3 separate regions of the Homo sapiens genome follow, and all the other regions are linked to region 3. The links are contacts of gene promoters, found by promoter capture Hi-C in blood cells and fetal thymus (Javierre and others, 2016). All regions are on one chromosome and are shown on one strand. The core of a region is centred on a gene start or on the middle of the fragment in contact, and the rest is flanking DNA. Distances in the headings are between cores, read along the strand shown. Region 1 overlaps MTFR1L (mitochondrial fission regulator 1 like). Region 2 overlaps AUNIP (aurora kinase A and ninein interacting protein). Region 3 holds the start of MAN1C1 (mannosidase alpha class 1C member 1).

Region 1 (2,700 bases), core at 131-2,630, 210 kb before region 3:
GTCAGCAAGACTGTTGCAGAAGATCTATCCTTAAGAGGCAGAAACATCTGCGGTGAGGAAGGCAGCTATTGAAGGTATTCCAGGAGCATGAGACTGAGTTTGCAGAGCTGAGGGTTGTCAATTTCCTTTTCTACTGATATCTTCTTCCTTTAGAGCAAACTTCCTCCTTAGGACCTCAGAGATAAGCACAGCAGGGTCTTCCTCCTTCAATAAACTCCGGTTCCTAGAGACACAATAATAGCTTGAGTACTTACTCTTTCCTGTGTAGTGCTGTATATCTTTTGAATACATTATCTCGTTGAATCCTCACAACAATCTTACGAGGTAGGTGCCATTACAATTCCCTTTCACAGATAAGGAAATTGAAGCACAGAAAGGTTATACAAGTTGCCCAAGGTCACTAGTCACTCAGCAAGTAAGCGGTGAATCCAGAGTTCAGAACCAAACTAGCTGGTTCCAGATCTCATCTATTAACTAGAATGCTTTACTATTTCCTGAAATAGCTATAAAGTATGGGCAAAGTAAAGGACCATCAGTCTGTTAGAGTTGGCCTCTGGTGGCTAAGCTTCTGCCTTCTGGCCCTGTTTTCTTAGTAGCATTTCCCCAGAGGGTCAGCAGGGGAAGTGACTGATGACTCTTGGCTATTCTGACCCTTGATAGTTCTGGAGAAAAGGTGTGCTTGGGATTTCCTACCACCGGGTCTCCCCTTCAGGGGAGATGATTTTTTATGAGAGCCAGAATTAGAGCAAAACATTCACATAAGAAACTCATGGGAACAAAACCAACTCCAGACTGAAGTAGGCCCAAGTTATCTGATACATCATATAAGAGGGTCCTAGATACCTGGAAAATAGTTGCTTGAAATCCTAGTGAACTTATATACATTCATCATGAAGGTGTTTTACTGGTGATTAAGCTAAATATAAGAGCCAAGACTGACTATTCAACCTTCAAAGCAAAAACAAGAGGGACTGCGTTTGGTTGGTGACATATCTGAACCTTTGCTGACTGGGGTACTTTCCCATTCTTATTCACTGACCCAGCTCCTTCTGATCTGAGGACACAAGTGGGAGGAGGGGGCTAGCAATAAGGGTCTTGAATCTAATTTGGTCCAAAAGGCAAGTAAGAGAAAGTTTGAGAGTCAACCTATAAAACATTTTGTTCAGAAGAAGACAGCTCAGAGAAGACCAAAAACAGCAGCAACTGAATTTGGGAATGTGGAAGACCAAAGAGATATGGGTGAGTATGACCAACCTGACTAGGGCCAGTGAAGGAAGGTTAAGAGTGACTTCCCTAAATGGGTCAACTGCCAGGAAGCAATGAGGGAGTCACTTAGCCTGGTCTACTTTTCAGAGGGAAATGGATCCCAGGAGACAAAAAGGGATCCAGGGCAAGTAACTTTCCCTTTAACAAGAACTTTATCAACTCAGGAGAGGACCTCGCTTCCCTGTCCCCAAAACAGTTTTTCATCTGCATTAACAAACAGAGCTGCACAAGCTGGGTGCTGGCCATCAAGGTCTGGCTCTCAAATGCCCAGGAACCTGCATTCAAACCAAGCTCCTCTGGTGAGTCCTGTGCAGCTGTTGAAACCGCAACCCACAACTGGAGAAACACTATGCAATGGGGTGACTCCCTGAGGCTTCTTTGCCAGATGAAGTTTTTCAAGGTAGGTATTCCCCAAAGACCCTCATACTCCATCGGAAAAACCTAGAGCTCCACTCCTTGGGGTTCTACTTTAGTAAGTTAAAGGTGTATTTTTAACAAATCTGAGCAATTCTGATGGGCAGCTAGGTTTCGGAACTACTGGTGAGTCTCAAAAGCCTTATTCTCAAATCACTGAATGTGCAGGGTTTGTTTGCACAATGGACCACTGTATTTTAAAGCAGAAATCTCCAACTTTATGAAATTCTCCTCCCACCAAAAAAGTCTACCAATTTGAGATAAGAAAACATAACAAAACATAATGTCATGCAACCCCTCACTTTGAAGGGTGGGCCATGAAGACACTGTCACTAGCAGTATGAGGACTGAAGTGGTAAAGCCACCTGAGGACAGAAGTTGGATTAGATGAGCCTTCTTGTAAAATCCCTACTAGCCTCATATTTGGTTGGGGTGACCAAACCCAATAAATGTAGTGTTGCTCTTTCCTCAAACTGGGGCCCCAGGCACTGGCAAGCAGGTAGTCAGCAAGCTTTATGAATGACATAACATATGGTACTACTAAGAACTTACTATGTAAGTATGTTGCATTACATAATTGGCCATGGGCAACTCTGAGTAAATAGATACCAGAGCTCCTCATCAGATACTTACAGATCTTGACTCTGTTTCATTCGGTGAAAGTCCTTCAGGATACCCATCATGTCTGCAAAGCTGCTGGCCTTGGACAAAGAGACGCAGTCATCCTCTTCAGACGAACTGCAGGCAGCTTTGTGTTCTGGTTTGCAACATTCAGGGCTGGCAGAACAAAGCAGGGGGACTGATGGAAGCTCAGGGACCTCCACCTCTGTCTCCTCGGTGATGTCACTAATGACAAAGGAAGTTGTAGAGTGGAATGAGGATCCAAAACAAGGTAAGGGAGAAGAGACATTTGAACTTCCTGGAGATAAGAAATCTGGCGTTAATGAAGCCGAAGCTGAAAGAGAAAACAATAGGCATGGGTGGACATTGGGGCTAGAACACAGTAGCAATATCTTCTCC
Region 2 (2,700 bases), core at 121-2,620, 240 kb before region 3:
TGGAAACTTTAATACCCACTTTCAATCATGGATATCAACAAGGAAAAAAGATTTGAACAATACTATAAACCAGGTAGACCTAACAGACAAAAATATAGAACAGTCTACCCAACAACAGCAGAATACATAGTCTTCTCCATGACACATGGAACATTCTCCACAAATACTAGGTCACAAAACAAATCTCAATAAATTTAGAAAGATGGAAATCATACAAAGTATATTCTCCATAATGGAATGAAAGTAGAAATCAGTAACAGAAGAAAAAGTAGAAAATCCACAAATAGGTTGAAATTAAACAGCACATTTCTAAATAACCAAGAGTCAAAGAAGAAATCAAAAGGAAAATTATAATAGAAAGTACTTTGAGATAAATGAAAACAAAAATATAATGCACCAAGATTTATGGGATGCAACTAACACTATGCTTAGAGGGATATGTATAGCTGTAAATGCTTTTATTAAAAAGAATCTCGGCCAGGCGCAGTGGCTCACACCTGTAATCCCAACAGTTTGGGAGGCTGAGGTGGGTGGATCACCCGAGGTCAGGAGTTTAAGACCAACCTGGCCAACACGGCGAAACCCTGTCTCTACTAAAAATACCAAAATTAGCTGTGCGTGGTGGCAGGCGCCTGTAATCCCAGCTACTCAGGAGGCTGAGGCAGGAGAACTGCTTGAACCCAGGAGGCGGAGGTTGCAGTGAACTCCAGCCTGGGCAACAAGAGTGAAACTCCTGTCTCAAAAAAAAAAACAACAAAAAAAAAAACCTTAAATAATCTAATCTTCTACCTTAAGAAACTAGAAAAAGAAGAGCAATCTAAACCCATAGTGACCAGAAGGAAGGAAATAATACAATTTAGAGTGAAAATAAATAGTAAAGAAAAACAATCAACATCAAAAGTTGGTTCTTTGCAAAGATCAACAAACTCAACACACCTTTAGCTAGACTGATCAAGAATAAAAGAGAGCACAGTGGCTCACACCTATAATCCCAGCATTTTAGGAGGCTGAGGTGGGAGGATCCCCTGAACCCAGGAGTTCAAGACCAGCCTGGGCAACATAGGGAGACCCTATCTCTACCAAAAAATACAAAAATTAGCCTGATGTGGTGGTACATGCCTGTAGTTCCAGCTACTCAGGAGGCTGAGGTGTAAGGATCACTGAACCCAGGGAGGTTGAGGCTGCACTGAGCGGTGATTGAGCCACTGCACTCCAGCCTGGGTAAGAGAGTGACACCCTGTCTCAATCAGTCAGTCAGCAAGAGGCCAGGTGAGGTGGCTGAAAAAACCCTATCTCTACTAAAAATACAGAAATTAGCCAGTTATGTTGGTGTGTGCCTGTAGTCCCAGCTACTCGGGAGGCTGAGGCAGGAGAATCACTTGAACCCGGGAGACAGGTTGCAGTGAGCCGAGATTGTGCCACTGCATTCCAGCCTGGGCGACAGAGTGAGACTGTCTAAAAAAGAAAATAAAGAGATAAAAATAATTAGAATACTATAAACAACTGTATGCTAACACATTTAGATAACTTAGATGAAATGGACAAATTCCTAGGAAGTCACAGACTACCAAACTTGCCTCAAGAAGAAATAGATAAAAATCAACTGACTGTAAATGTAAGGGTTTACTTCTGGACTTTCAGTTCAATTCCTTTGGTCTATAGACCTATAACGAAGAGATTGAATTAGTAATTTTAAAACTTCCTGCAAAGAAAAGTCCAGGTCCAGATAGTTTCTCTGGTGAATTCTACCAAACATTTAAAGAATTATACCAATCCTTCAGACTCTCTCAAAAAAATAGAATAGAAGAGGAGGGAACACTTTCCAACTCATTTTGAGGCCAGTATTACTCTGATACTAAAACTAGACCAAGATATCACAAGAAAAGGAAATTATGGTCTGGTATCCTTTATGAATACAGATACAAAAATACTCAACAAAATACAAGCAAAACAAATTTAGCAACACATAAAAAGGATTATAAATCATGACCAAGAGGAATTTATCTTAGGAATGCAAGGTTGGTTTAAATTTGAAAACCAATTAATATACCATACTAATAGCATAAAAGACAAAAACCACATAATCATGTCAATAGACACAGAAAAAGCATTTTGACTGACATCATTTTGTGATTAAAACACTCAACAGACCAGGAATAAAAGGGAATTTTCTCAGCCTCACAAAGGGCATCTATGAAAACCCAGTTAACATCATACTTAATGGAAGAAGACTGAATGTTTCCACTCCTAAATCAGCAACAAGACAAAGATCTTGCCACTCTGTTTACCATTGCACTAGAGATTTTATGCAGGGAAATTTAGCAAGAAAAAGAAATAAAAGATACCCAGATTAAAAAGGAAGAAGTAAAATTATCTGTTTGCAGAAAATATGATCTTATGTGTAGAAAATCCTAAGGAATCCACTTAAAAAAATTAGAAAAAATGAGTTCAGCAGTGTGACAGGATACAAAAATCAATTGTACTTCCGTATGGTAGGATTTTATCCAAAAAATGAAACTAAGGAAATAATTTCATTTACAATAGAATCAAATAGAATAAAATACTTAGGCATAAATTTAACAAAACAGTGCAAGACATACACTGGAAACTATAAAACTCATTGAAAGAAATTAAAAATGTAAATAATGGAAAGACATTACATGTTCATTGATCAGAAGACTTAAGATAGGAATATGCCCC
Region 3 (2,700 bases), core at 19-2,518:
GGCGGGGGCCGGGTTGGGAGGCGGCTCCTGCTCGCGGGCCGGGGCATGGCCGGCGATTTCAGCCACCACTTCCAGACCAGGCTGCTGGGTCCGGGGGGCCAGGAAGAGGCGCTTGAGGCGAGAGGAGTGGGGCAGCAGGAAGAGGGCCCCGAAGCACAGGGTGACCAGGCCCGAGAGGAAGAGGAGGAAGAGGAACTTCTGCGGCAGCCGCAGCCCCCACGGGGAGGCCGGGACGAAGCCGGGCACTTTCCTCATGAGCATCGTGGCCCGGCCGGTGGCTCCAGAAGCCCTCGGAGTCCAGGCACGTGTCTGCGGGGGCGCGGTGAGGGGAGGGCGTCCGGAGCGCCGCCCGGGATGGGGGTCCCTGGGCAGGGTTGCCAACCCTGAGAGTTTCGCCGCTTCGGGGGACTGTCCCCGAAGTTCAGGGAGTTTGGAGCGAGTCCTCCCGCGAGGAGGCGGGGGCGCAGCGGCCTCGGCGGGGCCCGGGCGAGCGGAGCGGCACGGCTTGGGGCCCGGGCCCGCAGCGACCGGCCGCGCGCCGCAGCCTCCCCTCCGGCCGAGCCCTCCCCGCCGCGCCGGGGCCCGCGCCTTCCCGCGCTGCGGCCGCCGGGACCGTCACATGCCGTCCGCGGCGTCCCGGCTGTCCGCGCCGAGGGGCGCCCGCAGGCCCGCACCAAGCCGCCCTCCGCCCCCTAGGCTCCCGCCCGCGCTGGTAGGCGCCCAAAGTTTCAGCTTCAGAAGCAGTTTCCGGAGGGGACCGAGGCGATGGGGGGCTGGCGTGTCAGCGCCGCCCCGAGCGCGCGCACACCCGGCCCGGTCGCGACAGCGCCCGGGCTCGACTATCGGGACACGTCCACAACTTTCTCCGCCGCGGAGAGGGCGCCGGGAGCTGGGAGCCGGAGTGGCCAGGGAGCAGGAGCAGGCACTTCCGAGCCTGCGGGGGCAGGGGGCTTCCCCCGGGCCCCAGACAGCGCAGGGATGCCTGGGTCCGGAGCCGCGGCTGGGCGGCTGCAGATGCGCCCGGGAGCGCGGGCTCCCGCCCCTCGAACTCGGCAGGGCGCGGGGCTCCCACTGGGATCACCTGTTCCCGGCCCCGCCGGCTCCGCGGAGCGCGCAGCCCTGGCCGCGCCTCCCCCGCTGCAGCTGTCTTCCTCGCAGCGGCCGCTCCAGACCGGCCGCTGCCGCCGAGCCTGCGCCCCACACGCGCGCACAGCCACCCGGCCGCCTCCACCGCCGTCCCCGCCGCCGCCGCCGCTCGGGCTTTCACTGCGACAGCGCCCGCCGCCCCGCCTCCTGCCGCCCGCCGGCCACGCCCGCCGGCCACGCCCACGCGCGCGCCCCGCGCCCCCTCCCGCCGCCGCCGCGCCGCAGCCGGCTGAGGGCCGCGCGTCCGGGGGCGGGGCAGAGGCCGAGCGCGGGCGGGAGCGCAGCCCGCTCCAAGCCCCGCCCTCCCCGAAGGGCAGGCGTCGCGCGCACCCCCCATCCAGCGGGCGCCAATGGTCCAGCGGCGCGGGGCAGGCGAGGGCGGGGGCGGAGAGCGCAACGAGGGCATTGGCTGCATCCGAGGGATCCCCGTTGGGCCACAGTCGTCCATTGGTTACTGCCCAGCCTTCGCTGGACCCCAAGCGACAGAGACCACCCCCCAGCCCGCCCGCGAGGCTCGGGTTGGTGGCCCCCGGAAGCGGGCCGGAGACGGTGTTGCTCTGGAGGGGTGTGCCCGTCGCTGGGTGACCTCTCTCGCCCCCGAGTGCCAGCCCGGGGTTGTCAGGGAGCTGGCAGCCCGCGCCCTGGCGGCTGCCCCGGGCTTCTCAGCGCTAACGCCGGGCTGCAGGGGTGCTGCTGGTGGCTGGAGCCAAGCCAGAGAGCTGTGACCGCGGCCGGGTCGGCGGAGGTGATGTTTCCACTGGCCCCCTCGCAGACCACTGGCGTGCCTTCCTTTTCCCACAACCCTAAACGGGGCCAGGGCTCCTGGGTGGAGCACGGAGGGAGGCTGACCGCAGCCTTGAGAAGCAGCGAAAGGAAGAGAGCCCCGGGCGTGTCTACAGAAGACCACACACATAATGTGACGGACGTCTACCTTGATGCCTACGTGTGTTTATATGCACATGTGTGCGTCTGGGCATAGATCTATATGCACACAGAGACTGGCATGTGGGTGTGTACATGCACTCAAACATACACTTAATTTGGGTATGGACACCCAAGTGATTATACCACAGTATGCATAGACATATATGTAAATTAGTACAAACATGGACATGTGCACCCGCATACCCACAGACACTCAGGCAACAGATAACCTCCAAAAACAGCCAGGCATCAACTCCCAGACACGCGTGTCCTCAACCCCAAGGCCCTCACATCTTCCTCCTTGGACTTAGTCTCTGCATCTTCCCTTCCTGTTAAACCTAACCCAGGGTGAAGCAACATTGTGCTGTGTGGGTCTTTCATGCAAAACACTTTATAGAGACAAATAACAGCAGAGGGAGAGACAAATTAAGAGGTTTGTAATAGGCAAGAGGGAAAATATCTACTTTCAGCTGCAATTTAAAATGAAATGCAGTGTTGACGAGACAGAAAATACTGCAGGGAAGCCTTTCCCGACAGAAGAAGCGGGCCAGGCAGGCTCTCGCCTCGTAAATCTTGCTTCTTCCCTGAGGCCTGCTGGGGATGGGCGGCTGGGACTCAGTCATCCTTCTA

What was found. The method cuts DNA at HindIII sites, captures the fragments that hold promoters and counts their contacts. A CHiCAGO score of 5 or more calls a contact.
Region 1: a fragment that was not itself captured here is called in contact with the fragment with the promoter of MAN1C1 in region 3 in 4 of 17 cell types (activated CD4 T cells, non-activated CD4 T cells, naive CD4 T cells and 1 more); the score reaches 6.8 in activated CD4 T cells.
Region 2: a fragment that was not itself captured here is called in contact with the fragment with the promoter of MAN1C1 in region 3 in 1 of 17 cell types (naive CD4 T cells); the score reaches 5.2 in naive CD4 T cells.

Annotation. Positions count from the first base shown.
Region 1 is chr1:25,829,444-25,832,143 of GRCh38, reverse strand. MTFR1L (mitochondrial fission regulator 1 like) reads right to left here. Exons shown (of 7, transcript NM_001099625.2): 6 at 2,314-2,635; 7 at 1-223. The coding sequence ends at 118. It also overlaps a transcript of AUNIP not described here. Among named protein-coding and RNA genes, the nearest start is that of MTFR1L, 11 kb to the right of the region's middle. The HindIII fragment of the contact is 1,626 bases long and covers 568-2,193 here.
Region 2 is chr1:25,850,515-25,853,214 of GRCh38, reverse strand. The region is part of intron 1 of AUNIP (aurora kinase A and ninein interacting protein); the gene reads left to right. Among named protein-coding and RNA genes, the nearest start is that of AUNIP, 7.6 kb to the left of the region's middle. The HindIII fragment of the contact is 2,900 bases long and covers 1-2,700 here.
Region 3 is chr1:25,615,359-25,618,058 of GRCh38, reverse strand. MAN1C1 (mannosidase alpha class 1C member 1) reads right to left here and starts at 1,268. Exons shown (of 12, transcript NM_020379.4): 1 at 1-1,268. The coding sequence starts at 261. RefSeq lists silencers at 1,043-1,332, 1,353-1,642 and an enhancer at 1,833-2,002. The HindIII fragment of the contact is 10,837 bases long and covers 1-2,700 here.